Regions from separate parts of the Homo sapiens genome. Here regions 2 and 3 are each linked to region 1. Evidence: promoter capture Hi-C in 16 types of primary human blood cells and fetal thymus (Javierre and others, 2016). All regions are on one chromosome and are shown on one strand. The core of a region is centred on a gene start or on the middle of the fragment in contact, and the rest is flanking DNA. Distances in the headings are between cores, read along the strand shown. Region 1 holds the start of CPN1 (carboxypeptidase N subunit 1). Region 2 has its middle 69 kb from the start of DNMBP-AS1. Region 3 overlaps ABCC2 (ATP binding cassette subfamily C member 2).

Region 1 (4,280 bases), core at 102-2,601:
TGTGGATGTGTGTTTTCATTTCTCTTGCATAGGTACCTAGGAGTGAAACTGTTGTATTATATAGTAAGTATATATTTAACCTTGTAAGAAACTGCTAAACTGTTTTCCAAACTGGCTGTACTATTTATTTGTTTATCTTTATTTTTTATTTTTTTTGAGATGGAGTCTCGCTCTGTCACCAAGCTGGAGTGCAGTGGCGTGATCTCAGCTCACTGCAACCTCCTCCTCTCAGGTTCAAGCAATTCTCCTGCCTCAGACTCCTGAGTAGCTGGGACTACAGGCGTGTGCCACCATGCCCAGCTAATTTTTGTATTTTTAGTAGAGAGGGGGTTTTGCCATGTTTGCCAGGATGATCTCGATCTCTTGACCTCGTGATCCACCTGCCTCGGCCTCTCAAAGTCCTGGGCTACAGGCATGAGCCACTGCACCTGGTCTGGCTGCACTATTTATGAGGGTTCCAGTTTCTCCCTATTCTCACCAACATTTGTTATTGTCTGTCTTTTTTATTGTAGCCATTCTAGTGGAGGTAAAGTATATTTCATGTGTGATTTTTGTTTGTTTGTTTTTTGAGATGAGGTCTCACTCTGTTGCCCAGGCTGGAGTGTAGTGGCATGATCATGGCTCACTTCAGGCCCCACCACCCAGGTTCAAGTGATTCTCTGCCTCAGCCTCCCTAGTAGCTGGAACTACAGGCATGCCATCACACCCAGCTAATTTTAAAAATATTTGTAGAGGTGGGGTCTTGCTATGTTGCCCAGGCTGATCTCAAACTCCTGGGCTCAAGTGATCCTCCCAATTTGGCCTCCCAAAGTGCTGAGATTATAGGCATGAGCCACCATGACTGGATCTCATGTGGTTTTAATTTGTATTTCCTTAATGACTAATGACACTGAACATCTTTAAATGTGCTTATTAGCCATTTGTATATCTATTTTGGTCAAATGTTTTGCCCATGTTTTAATTGGGTTGTTTGTTTTCTTATTGTATTGTAAGGATTCTTTACGTATTATGGGGGTATTATCGGATACATGATTTACAATTGTTTTCTCCCAGTCCGAGGCTAATCTTTTCCTTTTCTTAATGGCATCTGTTGAAAGATTTTTGAGGAAAAAAAGGACAAAATACAGCCATGCTTCAGAAAGATAGGCAGGCAGCAGTACGTGGGATGGATCAAAAGGGACAGAGAACTCTTTTTGAAAGTTGTAATAAAAGGAACAGGCACAGGCCAAGTTTTAAAAAATTCTCCAGGAATCAAAGGGTTATAAGCAGCTATTTATTGAAGCCTGTTTACAGTCCAGTTAACCAGTAAACCAGAATCAGTGAAACTACCCATCTGGGGAAGTGCAAAAAACCTTTCAAAAGGCTTTCCTGGATTAGAGAAAGAAAGGGAGTGAGGGAGGAGAGATGAGTGGCTATTCCAGAACGACATAAAGAATTTCCAGCCTTGGACGGACAGCTGGGAACGTCTTCCAATTTGGACTGGTGTTTACAAGCGGGAAGCTAGGTGGACCTTGGATTTTGGCGGGTGAAGAGGCTAGGTTGTTTAAGGAGGTGGGGCGCGTTTCAGTGGCTCTCTTTGAAAAAGCCCAGCAAGATGTCAGACCTGCTCTCAGTCTTCCTCCACCTCCTCCTTCTCTTCAAGTTGGTTGCCCCGGTGACCTTTCGCCACCACCGCTATGATGATCTTGTGCGGACGCTGTACAAGGTGCAAAACGAATGCCCCGGCATCACGCGGGTCTACAGCATTGGGCGCAGCGTGGAGGGGAGACACCTCTACGTGCTGGAGTTCAGCGACCACCCTGGAATCCACGAGCCCTGTAAGTTCTGAACAGCTCTTGAGGGTGTGTGGGGCAGGGCCTTTCCCTTGCAAATCCAGTAATTGGAGTGGTTTCTGGGGTGGTCCGTGGACGCCTCCGCCTACAAGGTATTATCTCTTTCTCAGCCTGTGCTATTTCCCTCTTAGCCCTCAAACTGCCACTGCCTCTGGGGAGCTATAACCCTCCTTCAGCCTTCAGATCTTTCCTCCTTTTTGGGTTCTGTTTGCTCAAAACTTTAATGGTAAAAGATGAGTCTTCTTCCCTGCTCATGTCCCATATCCCTTCATTTCCCCCATTTCCTTTCTTTTCCCCTTACTATTGTTCTGTCTTTCCCCACCCAATGGCTCAGGAGACATAGGCAAAAACAATGAGCCCTTCTAGTTCTGCCAGGAAACTTAGAAGGGTATAGGGGAATCTCTTCGGGGAGTGACAGTGTGGTATTCCAGAGAGAGTTTGGGGACTTGGGTGTCAGTTTTATTTACTGGATTCTTTTTTATTTTTTATTTTTTTGAGACGGGGTCTGGCTCTGTTGCCCAGGCTGGAATGCAGTGGCATGATCTCAGCTCACTGCAGCCTCCACCTCCTGGGCTCAGGTGATCCTTTCCCCTCAGCCTCCTAGGTAGCTGGGACCACAGGCATGCACCAATACGCCCGGCTAATTTTTGTATTTTTAGTAGAGACAGGGTTTCATCATGTTAACCAGGCTAATCTCAAACTCCTGGGCTCAGGCGATCCACCCACCTTGGCCTCCCAGTGTTGGGATTACAGGCGTGAGCCACCGCACTTAGCCTGGATTCCTTTTTTTAGTTTGTTTCTACTGTAAAAGCAATCCATGTTTGGATTAAAATTTAGAGATTAGATAAGGAAAAAAAATAATAAAACTCACCCCAAATCCCACCACTGTTAATGTATTGATGTATATCCTTCCAGACTTTTTTCTATGCATATTTAAACCCTGACTCAAACACATGTAATTGTTTCTATAAAAATGAAATTGTATTATAACTGCCCTTCTCATTTCACAATCTGTTATGGATAGCATCCATGTCTATAAGTGCAGATCTACATCACTGTGGTTTTGGCTGTGTAATAGCTCATTGCATGACTATGTTTAACTGTCCATATATTGATGGACATTTAAGTTGTTTCTAATTTCTCACTTCTTTCCTTACCAGTTCCTCCTTCAAACTCAACTTCAAATCTCCCTTTACCTCTTCGCTTCCACATCCCCTGCCCAAGTCCAGACTCCATCACAAGCTGCCTACATGATTGCACTGAACTCCCAACTGGTTTCTAACTTCATTTTTTTTTTTTTTTGAGATGGAGTCTCACTCTGTTGCCCAGGCTGGAATGCAGTGGTGCAATCTCAGCTCACTGAAACCTCCACCTCCCGGGTTCAAGCAATTCTCCTGCCTCAGCCTCCCAAGTAGCTGGGATTACAGGCGTGCACTACCATGCCTGGCTAATTTTTTTTATTTTTAGTAGAGACGGGGTTTCACCGTGTTGGCCAGGCTGGTCTCAAACTCCTGACCTCAAGTGATCCACCCGCCTTGGCCTCCCAAAGTGTTGGGATTACAGGCGTGAGCCACCGTGCCCAGCCAGGTCTCTAACTTCGAACTGCTGCACTCTGAATCTTCCATTTGGTACACAGATGCCAGAAAAATTTTCCTAAATCTTGACATAATCCCACTTTCCTACTTTAAAAGCCTCACACTCAATGGACTGGCCATGGGATTCAGAATATTGCATGGAGGAGGCTCATAGAAGGCCATGGGGTTACCTGGGATAATTGCCTCGCTTTGAAACTGCACTTCCATAGCAAGCAGCCTGCTGTCAATCAGATCATATGTTCACTGTGGAAGCTCGTGAGTGTTCATGGACATCATGGGGTTAGCCCCCCAACACTCCAAGCCCCCTTGTTGGTGCTCCTGTACTTTCTAGCTTTCAAGGCCTTCTTTGAAGCTTTTTCACAGGACTCTAGCCCTCACTGTTCCCTCTTTTCTCTGAAGCACTATAACTGCTATTCACCCATTCATTCCTTTAATTCATTCATTCCACAAATATTTACCAATCACCTACAATATGCAGGCACTTTTGTAGACTCTGGAAGTACAGCAGAGAATAAAACAAAGACCCTGCCCTCATGGGCCCGAATTCTAGTGGGGTAAGACTGACAATAAATGGGTAACTACGTAAATACATATTACATCAGATGGAAATAAGTGCTGTAGAGAAAACTAAATCAGGAAAAAGAGATAAGGATGGCATGGAGGAAGACAAGGAGGAGCAGGAGAGGCACTCAGGAGAGGCGTCTCCACTGAGGTGGCTTTGAACAGAGAGCTGAAGGATGGGTGTGATGGCACATGCCGTGCTGATATTGAGGAGGAAAAGATGACGGGCAGAGGGAAGAGCAAAGGCAATGCTCTGGAGCATGCTTGGCACATGTGAGGAACAGCAAGGGGG
Region 2 (4,121 bases), core at 1,303-3,802, 220 kb after region 1:
TGAAACTGAATAATGGAATCACAGGCACAAGGGAGATAACTGGGACGGGAGCAAGTTTACAAGATGAGTCTTTGTGTTTGCAACTTTAAATGTAAGTATTCCATAGTACTGCAAAATCTATGTAGTTACTTCATCTCAAAGAAATCATTTTTGATAATTAAAAAAAAAAAGATGAGTTTTGTTTTAAATACCAGATGTCTTCTAGGCTCTTCCTCCTTAAAATGTGACCTGCAGATCCAGGCACCGTGGCTCAAGCCCTTAATCCCACCTGCTTGGGAGGCTGAGGCAGGAGTATCCCCTTCAGCCCAGGAGTTCGAGGCTGCAGTGAGCTATGATGGCACTACTGCATCCCAGCCTGGGCAACAGCAAGAACCCACTTTTTTTTTTTTTTTTTTTGAGACAGAGTTTGGCTCTTGGTGCTCAGACTGAAGTGCAACGGTGTGATCTCAGCTCACTGCAACCTCCGCCTCTCGGATTCAAGCAATTCTCCTGTCTCAGCCTCCCGAGTAGCTGGGATTACAGGCATGTGCCACCACGCCTGGCTAATTTTGTATTTTCAGTAGAGACAGGGTTTCCCCATGATGGTTAGGCTGGTCTCTAACTCCTGACCTCAGGTGATCTGCCTGCCTTGGCCTCCCAAAGTGCTGGGATTATAGGTGTGAGCCACCGTGCCCAGCCCTACCCGAACCCACCTCTTAAAAAAAAAAAAAAGTGGTCTCTAGGCCGGCAGCATTGCCATCGCCACCACCTGTGAGCTCGCTGGAACTGCAAGGGGCCCACCTCCACAGCATTACTGAATCAAAGTCTATTTTAACAAGATCCTCAGGTGACTTGTGTGCACATTAAAGTTTGAGAAGCACCTGTTTAGACAACTTTTTAAAGTAGGACTTTTTGCTGTCAGAAAAGCAGAATTTACAAAAACCAAGGAAGGAGAGGGTGTCAGATGTTTCAGACACTCTAGAAGGAAATGTCAAAGAAAATTCTTAAATCCAGCTTGCTGGCTTACCTCCTGATTTTTCTCCCCTTCTGTCTGGAAATAGCTCTTCAGTTGTGCTTTCATCCACGAGTCCCACGACAGGGACTGATGGTGGGAACCTATCGTGTAAACATAGATATGGGGCCTCCCCTCTGATTATTGTGTATAGATATCTCTTCCTCTCAGGAACAGATCCAATGAGATGTGAGAATCCAGTGAGATGATGTCCACAAACTTTCATGAAATGTGAGCTCCAGAGGAGCTCAGTTTCAATAAGGATTGAATTTTGTGTCACCCCATTTTAGTTAATTGTGAAGCTTGGATTCTGTTGATGAGGGTGTTAGTTCAGGGTCAGGAGTACAAACGGGCCTTAACAGTTGTGCTCTGAACTGTGTTTCATTTGCAGAACCTTATGCTTGAGGACCGAGAAACCTCCAGCTTTAAATACTTCATGCTAAATCCCCTCTCTGGTCGCCACATAACTCACGGGGCATTAAACTCTCCCGCCTGGTGGTACATGATACTGCTGAAGTCTTCACGGTTTTACCTTTGCCATGTGTAGCAGATCACCCAGTGCTTCAGAGCAGGGGCAGTGGACTCCGATCTGTCTGAGCCCCTGGCTTATGTCCCACAGCCTCTGCTAGAACTTTGCTGCAATTGTTGGTGCAGGTCAGCATTAGTATTTTACATATGTCAAGAAAGGAGTTTTCCACAAGTTGCAGATTTTGCAAGCTACATAGGGATACCTACGCCTTAACACTCAAGAGATGACCCTCAAGCAGAGAGGGGCAGAATTAGTGCCTTCCCAGCGATAGGCTGTGGGGTGGTGGTGGAAGGGAGCAAGCCTCTGGTTAGAGTCTCGGCAATGTATTCATTCTGGAAACATTTCTGGGGAGCAGTCAGGTGGGTGAGACCCTGCAGCCACCCTGACAGGTCCTTAGACGGAGCAGGACCACGGCACACAGCAATGCCTGTGAACCACCACACCTCGGCATCTCACCAAGCATTTCTCACAGCAACCACCCCAGAGGTCCAGAATTAGGAAAGCTGAGGGTGAGAAATTCTCAATCTGCTGTCGTCAAAAACAGGACTCACTTTGACAAGAGCCCTCACTACAGCCTTCAGTTGAGACCAAGAAAATACCCGCAACTCTGTTCAAACTGAATAAGATTTTTGCAATTTGATAGAAGGGATGCCAGGCACGAGTATTGCAACCAACTTTTAGCTGGGCTTAAAAGGCAGCATGACCCTCTACATACTCAAACTACAGTGGGATTTAATGAAGAAGATCCATGAATTGTCATTAAACTGACTTTAGCTGAAGAACTGTGGCAGTTTTATCACAGCTACCTGGGCTTACTTTTATTAGTTTCCTATTGCTGGAACAAGTTACCACAAATTTAGTGGCTGAAAACAAATTTATCTCAGCATTCTGGAGGTCAGAATTCAAAATTAGTCTCACCGGGCTAAAGTCAAGGTGTTGGCAGGGCTGGTTCCTCATGGATGCTCCAGGGGAGAATTCATTTCCTTACCTTTTCCGATTCCTAAGGTCTGCATATCCTGGCTTGCGGCCACTCCCTCCATCTTCAAAGCCAGCAGCGTGGCACCTTCAACTGTCTCACTCCGTCCGTCATCGCAGCACGCTCTCACTCCGACTGTCCTGCCTCTTTTATAAGAACGCTGTGTTTACATTGAGCCCACCTGGCCAATCCACGGTGCTCTCCCCATCTGAAGACCCTTAACTTAATCACATCAGTGAAAGTCCTTTTTTCCAGGGAAGGTGGCATATTCACAGGCTTTGAGGATTAGGATGTGGACATTTTTGAGGACCATTATTCTATCACAGGTGTGAAGCCACATGACATTTTAAAGGCAAATAGTTTTGTTTTGTTTTTTTTTTGAGACAGATTTTGCTCTTGTTGCCCAGGCTGGAGCGCAATGGCACAATCTCAGCTCACGGCAACCTCCGCCTCCCGGGTTCAAGTGATTCTCCTGCCTCAGCCTCCCGAGTAGCTGGAGTTACAGGCATGCACCACCATGCCCGACTAATTTTTTGTATTTTTAGTAGAGGCGGGGTTTCTCCATGTTGGTCAGGCTGATCTTGAACTCCTGACCTCAGGTGATCCGCCCACCTCAGCCTCCCAAAGTGCTGGGATTACAGGCGTCAGCCACCGCGCCCGGCCAGCAAATAGTCTTTTTGAGCATGGAATCGTGACCCAGTCCAGGCTACATTGGTGGCTCTAGAGCAGTGGTCAGCAAACCTGTTCTTAAAGGGCCAGATAGTAAATATTTTAGGCTTTGTGGGCCAATTCCTCAACTCTGTATTGTAACATGAAAGCAGGCACAGATGGCAAAGAAACAAAGGAGCATGGATGTGTTCCAGTAAAACTTTATGTGCAAAAACAGGTAGCAGGGCAAATTTGGCCCTAGAGCCATACCCCTACTCTAGGTCCAACTAAAATAAAAGAATTCTGTTCAACCATTAACATTGGAGTCAAGTTTGCAGAGAAATTAGACTGTTGGATTAAGGACAATGAAAAGCTGGCCAAAGAGTAATTGGTTTACAGATTGGACCTAATAATTGTGTCAACCAGGCAAATATTTATTATACCAGAAGCTACCTTTATATTACCAGAATGCAAACCCTGACAAACCAGACCACAGGTGTCCGCAGATGAGCACTAAAAAAGAAGCAGCCAGGCAAAGCTATTGTTTAGCACCAGGTATCAAGAGCAATACCTGTGACCAGAGCTAATAGTACAACCAGTGCTATCCACAATCTTCTGACAACCAAGTTGTTTCCCAGAGAAGAACGAGTGTCTATAGCAAGCTTGTCCAGCCCATGGCCTGTGGGCCGCATGTGGCCCATGGCTTTCAATGTGGCCCACCACAAATTTGTAAACTTTCTTAAAACATAATCAGATTTTTTTTGCGATTTTTTTTTTTTTAGCTTATCAGCTATCATTAGTGTTAGTGTATTTTATATGTGGCCCAAGACAATTCTTCTTCCAGTGTGGCCCAGGGAGGCCAAAAGATTGGACAACCCTGGTCTCCAGGCTTGAGCAGCAAGTAATTGTCCCAAAGATGGCTGCCAAGGAACAGGGCAGATGGATCCGAAATCCGTGATAGTGTTTGTCAGGCATAA
Region 3 (4,202 bases), core at 1,267-3,766, 250 kb after region 1:
CCGTCCGGGAGGTGAGGGGCGCCTCTGCCTGGCCGCCCCTACTGGGAAGTGAGGAGCCCCTCTGCCCGGCCAGCCGCCCCGTCCGGGAGGGAGGTGGGGGGGTCAGCCCCCCGCCCGGCCAGCCGCCCCGTCCGGGAGGGAGGTTGGGGGGTCAGCCCCCCGCCCGGCCAGCCGCCCCGTCCGGGAGGGAGGTGGGGGGGGTCAGCCCCCCTGCCCGGCCAGCCGCCCCGTCCGGGAGGTGAGGGGCGCCTCTGCCCGGCCGCCCCTACTGGGAAGTGAGGAGCCCCTCTGCCCGGCCACCACCCCGTCTGGGAGGTGTGCCCAACAGCTCATTGAGAACGGGCCAGGATGACAATGGCGGCATTGTGGAATAGAAAGGCGGGAAAGGTGGGGAAAAGATTGAGAAATCGGATGGTTGCCGTGTCTGTGTAGAAAGAAGTAGACATGGGAGACTTTTCATTTTGTTCTGCACTAAGAAAAATTCCTCTGCCTTGGGATCCTGTTGATCTGTGACCTTACCCCCAACCCTGTGCTCTCTGAAACATGTGCTGTGTCCACTCAGGGTTAAATGGATTAAGGGCAGTGCAAGATGTGCTTTGTTAAACAGATGCTTGAAGGCAGCATGCTCGTTAAGAGTCATCACCAATCCCTAATCTCAAGTAATCAGGGACACAAACACTGCGGAAGGCCGCGGGGTCCTCTGCCTAGGAAAACCAGAGACCTTTGTTCACTTGTTTATCTGCTGACCTTCCCTCCACTATTGTCCCATGACCCTGCCAAATCCCCCTCTGTGAGAAACACCCAAGAATTATCAATAAAAAAATAAATTTAAAAAAAAAAAAAAAAAGAAAAAAAAGAATGGACTTTCCCAGGCCAGCTGTGGTGGCTCACGACTGTAATCCCAGCACTGTGGCAGGCCAAGGTGGGCAGATCACCTGAGATCAGGAGTTCAAGACCAGCCTGACCAACACGGAGAAACCCCGTCTCTACTAAAAATAAAAAAAATTAGCTGGGCGTGGTGGTGCATGCCTGTAATCCCAGCTACTTGGGAGGCTGAGGCAGGAGAATTGCTTGAACCCAGGAGGCAGAGGTTGTTGTGAGCTGAGATTGCACCATTGCACTCCAGCCTGGGCAACAAGAGGGAAACTCCATCAAAAAAAAAAAAAAAAAGGACTTTCTCAAAGAAAATGTATTTAAATGTCTGCACCAATAATTCCAGCATGTGTATGAATAAATATGATATGTCCTTTACAGTGAAGGTCTAATAAGATTTACTTATATGCCTTTTCCTTCTTAGAAAGTCTCTAAGAAATAAAATATCTTTACAATCAAACTCCTGACCTGTCCACATTCCAAATAATGCTGAGCATCTTTAGCGCCTCAAGACACTTTGGAAGCCACTCAAGAATTTTTCTTCCTGAAAAAGATCTTCCTCTTTCCAGGACATACTGCTTGCCAGGGCTTAAGGATACTGGAGAATAATGCTCACCCTGTTCACAAGACGGAAGCTTCCCTTTCTGTCATCAATGGTCTTACCTAAAAATTCCCAACTCTCCTCTCTCCAACCTCCACTGCCTTCACTACCCAGAAAGAGTGTCATGACTATGGAGAATCTCACATCCGTTCTCAGAAAAGTAAACAGAGGATGTTCAGTTCACCCAGCACTTATTTGGTACTGGGTTACAAAATGCTCACAAATGTCATTTGACTTCCACCATGAGACAGGTGGAACCCTGTGAGATAGGGTGTGTTCTGGCCATTACAAAAACAAAGAAATGGAGATTCTCCTTAGAGAAGTCAAGGCAATTCACCCAGCTTGGTAAACGGCAGAGCTGTCATGGGGACCCAGTCTCTGACTCCAAAGCTCATGCTTTCTTCTCTCCACTTACATAGCATGACAGTGTGTGTGGCCAGAGTGAATTTCACACCACTAGCCATGCCTGCCCTCCCACCGCTAATATCAAACATATAGAACCCCAAAGTACACACATGGGTAAATACCCAGGGGAAGCCTCACCTGTTGGAGGTGATCCAGGAAAAGACACATTTCTGGTTGGTGTCAATCCTCACCTCATTGTGTTTCAGAAATCGCTGCTGGTGCTCAAAGGCACGGATAACTGGCAAACCTGATACGGTCTCGCTGAAGTGAGAGTAGATTGGGGACCTGGTGACAGAGTCCAGACGCCTCAGCTGGCGGGAGGTAGACACATAAAACATCTGGACACAAAAAGTAAAGAATCAGCCAGTCCCGCAGTCATGAGGCATCCACCATCTTCCTCCTTTCTGGCCACAACCCAGCATTCTTCCCCTTGATGGGCACAGCTTACGTCTGAACAAGACAAAAGCCTGCAGTGCCATGTCTGGGAGCAGAATGATGAGAGGCTCCGAGGAGGAGACCAATGAGAAGACTGGGGTTGGTGGGGAACAGAGTGGGGTGAACGTGAGGAGAGCACACTGCAGCCTCAGAGCTTTGAGTCTCCAAACCTCCTAAGGAGTTCCGTCAGCCTAACCCATATCCCCCAGATCTACGGCTATCATCCATGTGACAGTTTCTGTACTCATTAGAGAAAAGGTCCCCAAAAGGATTTTGTAAAGGCAGTGGGGCCCGTGGGGTGTGTAAAGTGGGGATGGGCAGGAAATGGCCAGAAAAAGGCATGCCTAGGTTTGGGTAAAAAGGGAAGAATCTGTTCAATTAAGTGACCAAAACTGTGCCTCGGTGGTGTGTGAAGGTACAGAGAATTCTGGAGGTATGCAGAGTGCTGAGGGGGTAAGAACTGGAACAGGGTAGAATCCAATGCAGGGAAGAACCCTGTGGCCTGAGGGCAAGGGGGAGTGGAATGGGTCCGTGCTGCTACTAGATTCTGTGAGGATTTGTTGAAACCTGGGAAGAGTGGGGCGTTGGAGAGACGGGATGCAAAATGTTATACATGGACATACAGATGTTCCCTCCAATAACCCTGCTTCTTGTTTGTTGGCTTGTTATTAATAGTTAAAAGGCCGCTATGGTGACAATGTGCCTGAGGAACTGTACACGGACATGGGGGCGAGCCGCCAATCGCAGGCCACAAGGCCACGAGCCCCTGATCAGTGTCTTCAGAATTGTTTCCCCAGGCAAACAATTCACCACAAAAGCAGCTGGTGGGACCAGAGTTCCTCCACAGCCTCCCCTTCCCTCATCCATTTTATTGTGGGAATAGGGTTCCTTCCACTCGTTCCAGTTTCCCTGTTTTGCTTTCAAGCTGCACATTCCCTCGAAGAATACACTGGAATTGAGCCTAAACCACCCACAGACACCCCAGTGAAACTAGAACTTTGCCGAAGTAAAAAGAAAGACCCAGCTGCTGCTGAGAGACATCTCCAAGCAGCTATGCCTGTCCAAAGTCAACCAAGGAAGCACCATAGCATGGCTCTTCTGGAACCGACCTAATCGTCATGGGGGTTCTTATGGAGCTGCAAGACTGTGTCCAGAGCCAATCTCAAAGTAGTCTTGGATCCAAACGTAAATCTGTCCGACCTAAGCTTCCAGGGAGTGAAGGGTGGGCAGCAGTTAGGGTGACATTTGCCATAAATGGTGCACCCATTGATGCTCTCACTTCAGCTTCAGACAGTGGCCTGTGGGCTCCTGGGTATGTCAACATATGACTAAATGGCAAAGCTGCTGAGGGGAGGAGTGAGTGACTAGCAATGAATCAGAGAGAAGATTCTCAGGAAAGAGGCTGGGCTTTTATAGATAGAGAGGAAGGAAGGATGACTTAGCCATTTCCAAACCTACCTGAACAGATACATAAATAATGCCAAGAGGAATGACGATGATGGTGAAGACAGGAGTGGCCATGCAGATCATGACAAGGGTGCTGATTATCCCCAGGAAGCATGTAATCCAGCTGCGCAAGGACTGAGGCAGGGTGTCATCCACTGTGGAAATATCCTAGGAAAACGATTAGGAGAGATACACCATCACTGAGGTCTTCCTAAGATAGTTTACATCTTCCTAGTTCTAGCAAGGAATCTGTTGGATTCTGTGTGTTCCCAGTACTCCTTCATGTAATCATTTCATTGTGTTCATTTGCAATAGGCTGCATTGCTTGCCCCAATAACCAATTTCATTTCCATAATTTCTTCATTTAGGCCTGGCGTGGTGGTCACACCTGTAATCCCAGCACTTTGCAAGGCCGAGGCGGGTGGATCACCTGAGATCGGGA

What was found. The method cuts DNA at HindIII sites, captures the fragments that hold promoters and counts their contacts. A CHiCAGO score of 5 or more calls a contact.
Region 2: a contact is called between a fragment that was not itself captured here and the fragment with the promoter of CPN1 in region 1, in 2 of 17 cell types (endothelial precursors and M1 macrophages). The highest score is 8.3, in endothelial precursors.
Region 3: a fragment that was not itself captured here is called in contact with the fragment with the promoter of CPN1 in region 1 in 9 of 17 cell types (total B cells, M0 macrophages, erythroblasts and 6 more); the score reaches 7.2 in total B cells.

Annotation. Positions count from the first base shown.
Region 1 is chr10:100,078,940-100,083,219 of GRCh38, reverse strand. CPN1 (carboxypeptidase N subunit 1) reads left to right here and starts at 1,351. Exons shown (of 9, transcript NM_001308.3): 1 at 1,351-1,817. The coding sequence starts at 1,595. The HindIII fragment of the contact is 7,883 bases long and covers 1-3,781 here.
Region 2 is chr10:99,856,460-99,860,580 of GRCh38, reverse strand. No RefSeq gene overlaps it. Among named protein-coding and RNA genes, the nearest start is that of DNMBP-AS1, 69 kb to the left of the region's middle. The HindIII fragment of the contact is 2,513 bases long and covers 1,296-3,808 here.
Region 3 is chr10:99,834,106-99,838,307 of GRCh38, reverse strand. ABCC2 (ATP binding cassette subfamily C member 2) reads right to left here. Exons shown (of 32, transcript NM_000392.5): 24 at 3,773-3,928; 25 at 2,018-2,217. Among named protein-coding and RNA genes, the nearest start is that of ABCC2, 54 kb to the right of the region's middle. RefSeq lists an enhancer at 3,142-4,202. The HindIII fragment of the contact is 2,011 bases long and covers 1,511-3,521 here.